3 separate regions of the Homo sapiens genome follow, and all the other regions are linked to region 1. The links are contacts of gene promoters, found by promoter capture Hi-C in blood cells and fetal thymus (Javierre and others, 2016). All regions are on one chromosome and are shown on one strand. The core of a region is centred on a gene start or on the middle of the fragment in contact, and the rest is flanking DNA. Distances in the headings are between cores, read along the strand shown.

What was found. Contacts are between HindIII fragments. The CHiCAGO score rates a contact against its expected background, and 5 or more counts as called.
Region 2: a fragment that was not itself captured here is called in contact with the fragment with the promoter of STX3 in region 1 in 1 of 17 cell types (neutrophils); the score reaches 5.3 in neutrophils.
Region 3: a contact is called between a fragment that was not itself captured here and the fragment with the promoter of STX3 in region 1, in 1 of 17 cell types (neutrophils). The highest score is 6.7, in neutrophils.

Annotation. Positions count from the first base shown.
Region 1 is chr11:59,753,608-59,757,059 of GRCh38, reverse strand. It overlaps STX3 (syntaxin 3), which reads right to left and starts at 1,684. Exons shown (of 11, transcript NM_004177.5): 1 at 1,425-1,684. The coding sequence starts at 1,454. RefSeq lists a silencer at 1,484-1,743 and enhancers at 2,614-2,773, 2,710-3,004, 2,770-3,064, 2,754-3,254. The HindIII fragment of the contact is 11,536 bases long and covers 1-3,452 here.
Region 2 is chr11:59,834,763-59,838,205 of GRCh38, reverse strand. CBLIF (cobalamin binding intrinsic factor) reads left to right here. Exons shown (of 9, transcript NM_005142.3): 6 at 855-1,032; 7 at 2,197-2,398. Among named protein-coding and RNA genes, the nearest start is that of CBLIF, 9.0 kb to the left of the region's middle. The HindIII fragment of the contact is 3,658 bases long and covers 1-3,391 here.
Region 3 is chr11:59,856,145-59,859,519 of GRCh38, reverse strand. TCN1 (transcobalamin 1) reads left to right here. Exons shown (of 9, transcript NM_001062.4): 5 at 253-443. Among named protein-coding and RNA genes, the nearest start is that of TCN1, 8.7 kb to the left of the region's middle. The HindIII fragment of the contact is 1,639 bases long and covers 995-2,633 here.

The DNA of each region.
Region 1 (3,452 bases), core at 435-2,934:
CTGAGGCAGAGAGGCCACTCCCACAATAGGCAACTGTCCCTTTGCTTCTCTCACTTCCCCAGCTACCTGCCTCCTCCGCAGCCCTGCTACACAGAACAGGTGAAACAGGAATGAAGGTCTCATCCAAGCAAGGGAGAAAAAGGATAAACTCTTGTAACATCATCCCAGCAGTCCCTGACATCTGCATTTTCCCAAGAGCACTCACAGTTATTAGCATATTTCACCATTTATTAAGTCCCCCGTGCCATGCACCCTAAAAGTGTTCTTAAGCATCTTCTGTTGCATTTCGACCTTACAACTACCCATTTTACAAATGACAAAACTTAGGCTGGGATTTTAAGGGATCACCAGTAAGCAGTGGAGCCAGGAGACAACCCCAGTTCTAATCCAGTCCAGTGCTTCCCAAACTGTAATGTGCCCATGAATCACCTGGGGAAATGGATGAATAATTAGATTCTGATTCTGCGGGGCTAGACTCAGGCCTAAGCTGCTACACTTGTAACAAGCTCCAAAGTAGATGGACTAAACTCTTGAGTGTCAAGGGCTAGATTTTAATTCTATTAAGGTAGAACCTGTGCCACTGAATCTCCAAGGCTTAGCACTGGACCTCCCCATAGAATACACTCAATAATTATGTACTGAATGAGTCAATGAATATCTGGCTTAAAACCCTATGCGTTAACCCTTTTCTGTATCAAGTTCCATTGTATCAGCTGATCCTCCCAACAAATTCCTAGGGTATGATCATTCCCATTTGATAGATAAGGAAACAGAGACTCACAGTAAGTAACCTAAGGCTTTACAGCTTTTGCGCAGCCAAGGCTGGAGGTAGTCTACCTTCAGATCCTTTGACCTAACCACAGCTGTTCCAAAAGATACGGCGGGGGAGGGGGGGACAATGACACCCGGGGATAACAATTACAGACCACCGGTTGGAGAGGAGCTGACCCATCCCAGCATGTGACCGGCTCACAGCTCCAGAGGTCACCAGAGAGCTCTGAGCTGCTCCCTGGGGGAAGGGGCAGCCAGGCCTGTAGCACCTCAGGAGAGAAACAGGAAAGGGAGAAGGAGGCTGGTCCTGGGCATAGTGCCAGGCAGCAGTGGGCAGGTGGTGAAGGGACCCCTGACCTCCCGGGCCCAAGCACCCGCTTCGGGAACCAGCTCTGGACAGACACTGTCCAGCTTGCGGGGTGGGAGAGTTAGAGGCGTTCAGGAAAATCATTGCCTAGCGATGAATCACCGGGCACATGACCCCGCAGGGGAGGGGAGGGGAGGGTGCGGAACCGGCGCGGGAAGCGGTGGGGGCTTGGGGAGGGCAAGCCTCCGGCTCGGGCCCCCCTCCAGCCTCGACTTGGGGAGCAAAGGGAAGCCCCTCTCCCATGCAGCACCCCTCCTGGCAGCACCCCGCCTGCGGCGAAACTCACGGCCTTCAGCTGCTCCAGACGGTCCTTCATCCTGAAGCCCAGGCGCCCGGAGGCAGGTAGCGCGTCCCAGGTGAGCGCGTCCCAGGTGAGCGCTTCCCAGGTGAGCTGCCGGAAGCGGCGGCCGGGCCCGCCGGGGCGAAGGAGCTGGAGGCGCAGGCGGCGGCGGGCGGCGGCCGCTAGCTAGGAGGAGCGTCCGAGGCCACGGGAGCCTCCGCCGCGCAGCCCCCTCCGCCCCCACCGGCGCCTCGCGCTCCAAATCCGGCTCCCGGGCCGGCGCCGGCGCAGCGCTGATCCGCCCTGGACCCGCCCCTACCTGGCCGCGCCCCTCGCTCCTTCTTAAAGGGCCCGCGTCCCGCCACCGCCCGGCCGCCCGGGGCGTCTCCAAAGCCCCCTTCCCTAACCCGAGAGCCCTCCAGACACGCGTGGAGTCCGGGGAGAGGCCCCTGCACCGGCGGATCCTGCCGCAGGGCCGAGGAAGAGCAAGAGCGACTGTCTGGCTGCGGTCATTCGCTGTCTGTGCCGGGCTCCTCGCTAGGATCCAGTTCTTAGCCGACTCCTTGCTAGGCGGGGACAAGCTCCCGAAAACAAATAAGACAATGTGATGTGGGCTACATTGGGTGGCAGTCGAGTGTTCTAAAAATATCCCGCCAGGAGGAAGGCATTCCGAGTAGCGGGATCCCGCGCAGCCTCAGGGCTGCTGGCAGTGAAAGTGGGGGGATGGAGGAGGTGTCCAGAGGAAAGACCTGGAGATCTGGAGATACAGGACGGTCAGGGTGGTCAGAGAATTTGGATCTTTTGCTTGTTGGAAATCGGGACCGCTCCGAGAAACGTAAGCAGCTCGATGTTGTTAGTGCCAGTGGAGACACTTGGCACTCACAATTTGCAGACGTTTGGGAAAGCATCGTTTCTCAAGAGGACCCCGTTCCCGTGTCTGTAAATCAGAGATGGTACCCACTTCGTAGTTCGCTGTGAAGCCTGTGAGCGAGGAGGGGCTTTAAAATACAGAACTTTGCACTGGAGCGCTCCCCGTCCTCGCAGCCTGCTTGGTGTGCAGGTGGTTCCCAGGCGGCTTCTGCTTCCGAAAAGCAGATCGTCCCTTTATCTCGAGTCTTCTCCCCGCCTCTCCCTCTTCTCCCTACCCTATTTGTCTTCTTGGGAACAAATGGCACATTCATCAGAGTGGAGATCCATAAACGGGACTGGCGAGCCGAAGATTTAATTCTGAAGAATAGGATCTGCTCTGTGCTTTCAGGTTAAAAAGCTGTAAATATCTTTGTAATTCTAGCAGTACTTTGCCCTCTTCTGCCATCTGAACGCGTGCTCCCTGCTGACCTCATCGGCTCCCATAAAGATACGGTGCGTATGGCAGAGGTCGGGCTTTGAGCCGGCCCCGCGGGTCTCGGCCGTAGTTCTCTCTCGCGTCCGGCACACTTCCTTCTGCCCGCTGTGCTCGCTGGGCAGGTTGTCCCCGCCTTAGTACCAGGAGGGCTTCCGCGCCCCCTGGTGGTCATACTAGGAAAGGCGAGTAGATCAGAAATACACACTGTCCCACCTCCTTCCCCTAACACATTTTTGGGGAGTTTGGGGGTTGTTTGTTTGTTTGTTTGTTTGTTTGTTTGTTTTTTAGACAGAGTCTCATTCTGTTGCGCAAGTTGAGTGCAGTGGCGCGATCACCGCTCTCTGCAGCCTCGATCCCCTGGGCCCAACCCATCCTCCCATCTCAGCCTCCCAAGTAGCTGGGATTACAGGCGTGCGCCACTACGCCCGGCTAATTTTTGTGTTTTTTTCGTAGAGATAGGGTTTCGCCATGTTGCCCAGGCTGGTCTGGAACTCCTGTATTCAAGCCATCCGCCCGCCTCGGCCTCTCGAAGGGCTGGGATTACAGGCGTGCGCCACTGCGCCCTGCCCCTTAACAGATTTTTGTTAGTGGGAATACGTAGTTCCCCGCGCTTCAAGAAAATAGAGTCTTCCGCGAGAGGCCGAGATATGAACAACCCTTCACGTTAGGAATCTGAAAAGGACCATTGG
Region 2 (3,443 bases), core at 313-2,812, 81 kb before region 1:
GCAAGTAACAGAAACCCAAATCCTTTTAGCTCAAGAAAAAAATGAGGATTTACTATTCACATACACTGGGAAGTCTAGGGCTGAATTAGGTGGTTTCAGGAATAACCAGAATAAAGGGCTCAAATCATGATATCAGGAGCCACTCTTTTTTCATCGTCCAGCCCTGATTTTCCTCATTCTTTCCTGCTGCAGGGCTTCTTCAAAGTGGCTGAGAAAGATGGTCACTAGCAGCTTACCGTTTATTTGCATGGTCCCAGTTGAATAACCTTAGCAGGAAAAAAAAATCTTTGGGTGTCCCAATGTCTGTATGTCGGGGAATGATTCTGATTAGTACATGTGTCCACCAATCACTGTCATCAAGGGGATGGTGACCACCATCAGCCCAGTCCAGGTCATGAGTCCATCCTGGGCCAGGGTTGTGGAGCCTCTGAGAGTCCTGACACAAGCACAAAGTGAGGGAAAAGTCCATCAAAGAGGGCACATGGCAATATGAAACAAGGGGTCTACTCCGTTTATGTGGCTAGACTGTCCTAGGCTAAAGCTCCCTCTGGAGCCCAGCTCTCACCCTCACTCTACATTCAAGAGTCGTTCGTAAATATGACTGCCTAATAGTGTTCCCTGGATCTGATCATTGCACAGTTCTGTGTCTGCTGTCTGACAGACACTGTGCTAAGTGGTGGGGACATAGCATTGAAGACAAATGTTTTCCAAACCTTACATAGCATTGGCTTTGCATTCTGGGTGACTACGTGATCACCATGATTAGTGATCAAGTTTATCTCTTAAGACATGTAAGAGCCAACTCTCAGCTATGCCTAATTACTCTTTCTCTCTCTTTCTGTCTTCCTTCCCAGGCTCTCTCTGTAACACCTGAGCCATCTAAAAAGGAATGGAACTGCAAGAAGACTACGGATATGATACTCAATGAGATTAAGCAGGGGAAATTCCACAACCCCATGTCCATTGCTCAAATCCTCCCTTCCCTGAAAGGCAAGACATACCTAGATGTGCCCCAGGTCACTTGTAGTCCTGGTAAGACATCCACCTCTCCTTATGTCATAAAGCAGCAACTTATGCCAGAAATGACATGTGGATCAATGTTAAGTGGCATATAGGCTTGTAATGTCCATTATTCCCATGTGGGCAGAGTACATCTGACTCCCAGTCCTTAAGAGTGTGTGCTAGCACACAGACATACCTTCCTGCACTCAGAACTCAGCCCCATATCTACTTCATTCAGCATATATTTACCTAGCTCCTACTATGTGCAAAGCATTTTGTGGGATACTAGAGGTAGAAGAAGCTCCATGGTCCCAGCTATCAAACAACATATAGCTTCATTTATTCATTTCACAAATGTACCATCAAACACTATGCATATCTTATCATATCTGCCTTTCACAAAGTCAGAAGACAGATGTGTAAACAAAAACTACAATATTTGGGACAATCGAGTAAGTATTAAATAGAAGTTAAAGCCACACACAGTGCAAATGCCAAAAAGAAAAATAGTGACCAGTTGTTGATTTTGTTTGGGAGGCTTCAGAGAAGAACAGAATTCATATTTAAATCGAGCCTTAACGATCTAAATATGAAAGCTCGATGCACGCAATATATCAATGAGATGGAGTGGAAACCTAGCATGCCACTTTTTAATTAAAAATATCTTTATTTTATCCAATTATGCATATAATTGAAAGACACTAAAAATTCAAACATTACAGAAATATGCATTTGGAAAGTGGAGGTCTTGCATAAAAACTTATTACTCCAGAGATTACTAGTGTTTGGTATGGATTCCTCAAACTCTTTTTTTTTAATAAAATGCTAACACAAAGCATCATTCCTCTTGCATTGCATGAACTTCCTAAGACAAGAAGCAATTAATAAGTTTCTCGTCTATCTCAATGCAGAATGTGGAGACCAAAATCAAGCAAACTGATCCCAATCCTACCAAAAACTACCACATTCACTCAACCCCTTAGGCTGCTTCCCAGTGATGTCCCAACCTTAACAAGGTGGCCATGGAGTTTTTGCCGGAATTCTATGCTAGTTGTCCAAGTACTTTGTTAAATGGTATGAAACTCACTACTTTCTCAAAATGTCTTCTGGGGTAAGTTGCCAATAACAGAGATTTTGCACCTATGATACAAACCCCATAATCTTTGACAAATGTGGCCTCTTTGCCCTTCACAGATCATGAGGTACAACCAACTCTACCCAGCAACCCTGGCCCTGGCCCCACCTCTGCATCTAACATCACTGTCATATACACCATAAATAACCAGCTGAGGGGGGTTGAGCTGCTCTTCAACGAGACCATCAATGTTAGTGTGAAAAGTGGGTCAGTGTTACTTGTTGTCCTAGAGGAAGCACAGCGCAAAAATCCTATGTTCAAGTGAGTATTACAAATGTCATTCATCATTCTCTCAAGGCCTGATCTGAATTCCCATTTTTTATCCATCCTGTTTTCCTAATTTTTTTCCTTTTGATAACAGATTTTTATTTAATAGCGCTTGAGCAGCTTTCAATCTAATAAATAGGTAAGGCTCTCATGAAAACTTAAATCATATAAGTCAACATATGATGAAGTTTTAAAAACAAAAATTCAGAGGAGATTCGAAAGTCCATTGCAGAGTAGAACAGGCAAAAGAGACTTTGTAGCTTTGAAACACAAAGAATAGGTACTATTTAGGAAGATGTGGGAAGAGGTAAGTCCAGAAAAAGAAATGGCCAGAACAGGCCGGGCGTAGTGGCTCATGCCTGTAATCCCAACACTTTGGGAGGCCCACGCCTGTAATCCCAGCACTTTGGGAGGCTGAGGCATGCGGATCATCTTAGCTCAGGAGTTTCACCAACATGGTGAAACCCCGTCTCTACTAAAAACACAAAATTAGCCAGGCGTGGTGGCACGTGCCTGTAATCCCATCTACTCGGGAGGCTGAGGCAGGAGAATCGCTTGAACCTGGGAGACGGAGGTTGCGGTGAGCCGAGATCATGCCATTGCACCCCAGCCTGGGCAACAAGAGCAAAACTTCATCTCAAAAAAAAAAAAAAAGGAAAAGAAATGGCCAGAACAAAGCATTTGCGATAAGACTGAGCAAGGAATTTGGGGCCAATGAATAGGCCAGGTGGACATACCAGGTTGGGTGACAGTGTAAAAGTCTTGAAATACCAGGTTCAGGAGACTGAACTTCATTTTGCAAGTTTTTGAGTAAGAAAATCCACTTGGTAAAATGTTGCTTAGGTCGTGAGAATAGGAGACAAGGCTAAAACATAGGACATGACTCCAATAATGGAGGTGTGAAGTGACGATGACTTCCTCTGGGATACACGGACCCACACCAAGGCTCTGTGAGTGATGGGACATAGAGGTCAAGAGAAAGAAGCTTCAAAACTATTGATTAAAGGGTCAAGAAGAAAGAATATCTTTCAAAGAAAAG
Region 3 (3,375 bases), core at 565-3,064, 100 kb before region 1:
TGAGGTATGAACTATGGAGTACATGGCAACTGAACATTGGGAAGAAATCTTTAAATATTTGAGTGGTTAGTGCTGGAGAGATGATTGCTGTATCTTGAAATCTTTCTTCACCAATTAGCATGACCAACCATCCCAGTTTTTCTAGATCTGTTTTTCTTTTAGCACTGAAAGTCTCACATCCCAGGAAACCTCTCGGCCCAGGACAAACTGAGGTGGTTGGTCGCCTATCAACAATGTTTTGTTTCCTGACAGATACTGGTGCAATGGCTGTCCTGGCTCTGACCTGTGTGAAGAAGAGTCTAATAAATGGGCAGATCAAAGCAGATGAAGGCAGTTTAAAGAACATCAGTATTTATACAAAGTCACTGGTAGAAAAGATTCTGTCTGAGAAAAAAGAAAATGGTCTCATTGGAAACACATTTAGCACAGGAGAAGCCATGCAGGTAAGTCAGAGGGTGAAACAGGAGGCAGAGAAGGGAGTCTTCTCTGGAAGAAAGCAGTATTTTTTTTTTTTTAAGATGGAGCTTCGCTCTTGTTGCCCAGGCTGGAGTTGCAATGGTGCGAGCTCAGCTCACTGCGACCTCCGCCTCCCGAGTTCAAGCGATTCTCCTGCCTCAGCCTCCTGAGTAGCTGGGATTACACCTGCCTCAGCCTCCTGAGTAGCTGGGATTACAGGCATCCACCACCACGCCCGGCTAATTTTTTCTATTTTTAGTAGAGACAGAGTTTCACCATGTTGGCCAGGCCGGTCTCGAACTCCTGACCTCAGGTGATCCACTCACCTTGGCCTCCCAAAGTGCTGGGATTACAGGTGTGGGCCACTGCGCCCAGCCAGTATCTTTTTCCTTTCTTATTGGCCTCCTAAGACCTTATTATACATTCTGCGGTTCCTATACTAACTTTGATTTTGCTCATACGATTCCCTTCCCCTCCCTGACATGTACTCTTCTCATCTTCAGCTTTACTTCCCCATAGCCAATGCTTCTAGGAAGCTTTTCCTAACTACAATTTCTCTAAGAAACTCTAGAGTCTACTACAATCTGCTTTCTTGTTCTATCACACGTAGTTTACACTTTCACACACACAGTAGTCCCCCCATTATCCACAATTTCACTTTCCACAGTTTCAGTCACCCAAGGTCAACTGAGGCTTGAAAATATTAAATGGAAAATTTCAGAAATAACGCATAAGTTTTAAATTGTGCATAATTCTGAGTAGTGTGATAAAATCTTGCACCTTCCCGCTCTGTTCCACCCAGGAAGTGACTCATCCCTTTGTCTATGCTTGTTAATCACTTAGTAGCCGGTTATCAGATCAACTGTCCCAACATTGAAGTGCATGTGTTCAAGTAACCCGTATTTACTTAATAATGGCCCCAAAGCACAAGAGCAATGGTGCTGTAATATATTATTATAATTGTTCTATTTGATTATTGCTGTTGTTAATCTCCTACTGTGCCTAATTTATAAACTGAACTTTATTATAGGAGTGGATGTATAGGGAAAAAACATAGTATATTTAAGGCTCAGTACTATCCATGGTTTCAGGCATCCACTGTAGGTCTTGGAATGTATCCCCCGCTGATAAGAGCAAACTACCCCATCACCTCCATTTCCTAAACTAGGAGCATGAGTCACAGTAACTGTGTCAGTAATCTAACTAATCTCACAAAACCAGAAAGTGGTGTAGATTGGGATGGGACCTGGGCTGTTGTTCTCAAAACTCACACTCAGCACCTACACTGTCGTGCATATGCTCTTTGAGGTCTGAGACTTTATTCCTGCATTCATTCAGCCATTGATTTACAAACTCTAAGGGGATGATATAAGAAGCGATCAAGGAAGGTTTACAGAAAAAAAAAAAACTTTACTGCATCATCAGTATGAATAGATATTTTCCAGGCTGACTCAGGGCTAGAGGACTTTCAAGGGAGAGACGACAGTGAGGACAAAGACCCAAAAGCACAAAAGAATGTTAGGCATTTTAAGGTCAAGGTGTTCGGCATGACCAGCACAGAGTCCTTGGGAAACATAACAGGAGGCTGGAGGTGTAAGCACGGGTCCAGTCATAAGGTTATCTGTATTGTTGTTGTTACTATTTATGTTGTTGATTGCCTTACTAAGTTTGAACTGAATATAAACTGCTTTCCCATTTTCATTGCATATTTGAATCACCTGAAGGAGCTCTTAGAAAACACTAATACCCAGGCCCACACCAGCCAGGTAGTACAGAAATTTAGAGGTGGAGCCTGGGCCTTGCTCTGGTTTAAAAGCCCTACAGGTGATACAAATTCACAGTAGGATCAAGAGCTAATTGCCTACAACACATTGTTGGGTATTTTTAAATATTAATAACATTTAATTTATTGTTATGTATGTGAATAACATTTATTGACGTGTCTTAAGAGGAAATGTACTATGACCAGTTTTTCTTTTTTCTTAATATCCCACAAATGCTTGTGGACAACTTGGTTAGCTTAAGAACCTCCAAGAAAAGATGAAAACAGGAACTGTCCATCCCTGGGAAACTACAGAGCAGCATGTTCAAGTCCGACCCACCTTAGTTCCTGTCTTGCTTACCCCAATGCCCTCCTAACTTTTACTACCTCACAATTCTGCCCCTTCAATCAAGCTTACATTCTGCTGCCAGGAGAGTTTCTGTTTAATGAACAATTAGACTCCCCATTGTCAATCAAATAATGTCAGACACCTCCTCATCGTTGTCAATCAAATGAGGTCAGACATCTCATCATAAAATTCAAGCATCTACTAGTCTAGCCCAACTTCCTTCTCCAGCCTGTTTTTCCACAGTTGCCTCCAATGTTCCCCATACATCAGTTCTCCTAAACCAGGAGGAATCCCCTGAGGAACTTTGCTAAAATGCAGATACTGTCATCATTGCCAGGTCATGTCCTGGCCATTCCTACCTAACACCTTTGTTCATGTTGTTCCTCTTGAGTGCTCTATCCTACTCTCCAAGGCCTAACTCAAATACCACCTTCTCCAGGAAGCTTTTTTTTTTTTAGCTTCATTAAATGTTTGTGAGCTCCTCTCCTCTTTTGAAAGAGGCATCCCACTAGATGCATCCCTTAGGGCATTCCTCTGGCAACTCCTTTTACAGTAGTTTGTTAATATTTATTGAGTGTCTCCTATATGACAGGTATTTCCCAGCACTGGGATACAGAAATGAATGTGGCAAAGTCTGCCTTCATTGGAACTATTATAGCTTGTGTTATTAAGCAGTTCCAACCTCCCTGCCCAAACTAGTTTATAAGCTTCTGGATAACAAGAAAGATAACTGAGTTATCTGAGGTGCTTCCTAGGTAGTCAATGTTCAATTAATACTGAATTAGTTACATATATAGTTATAGATAAG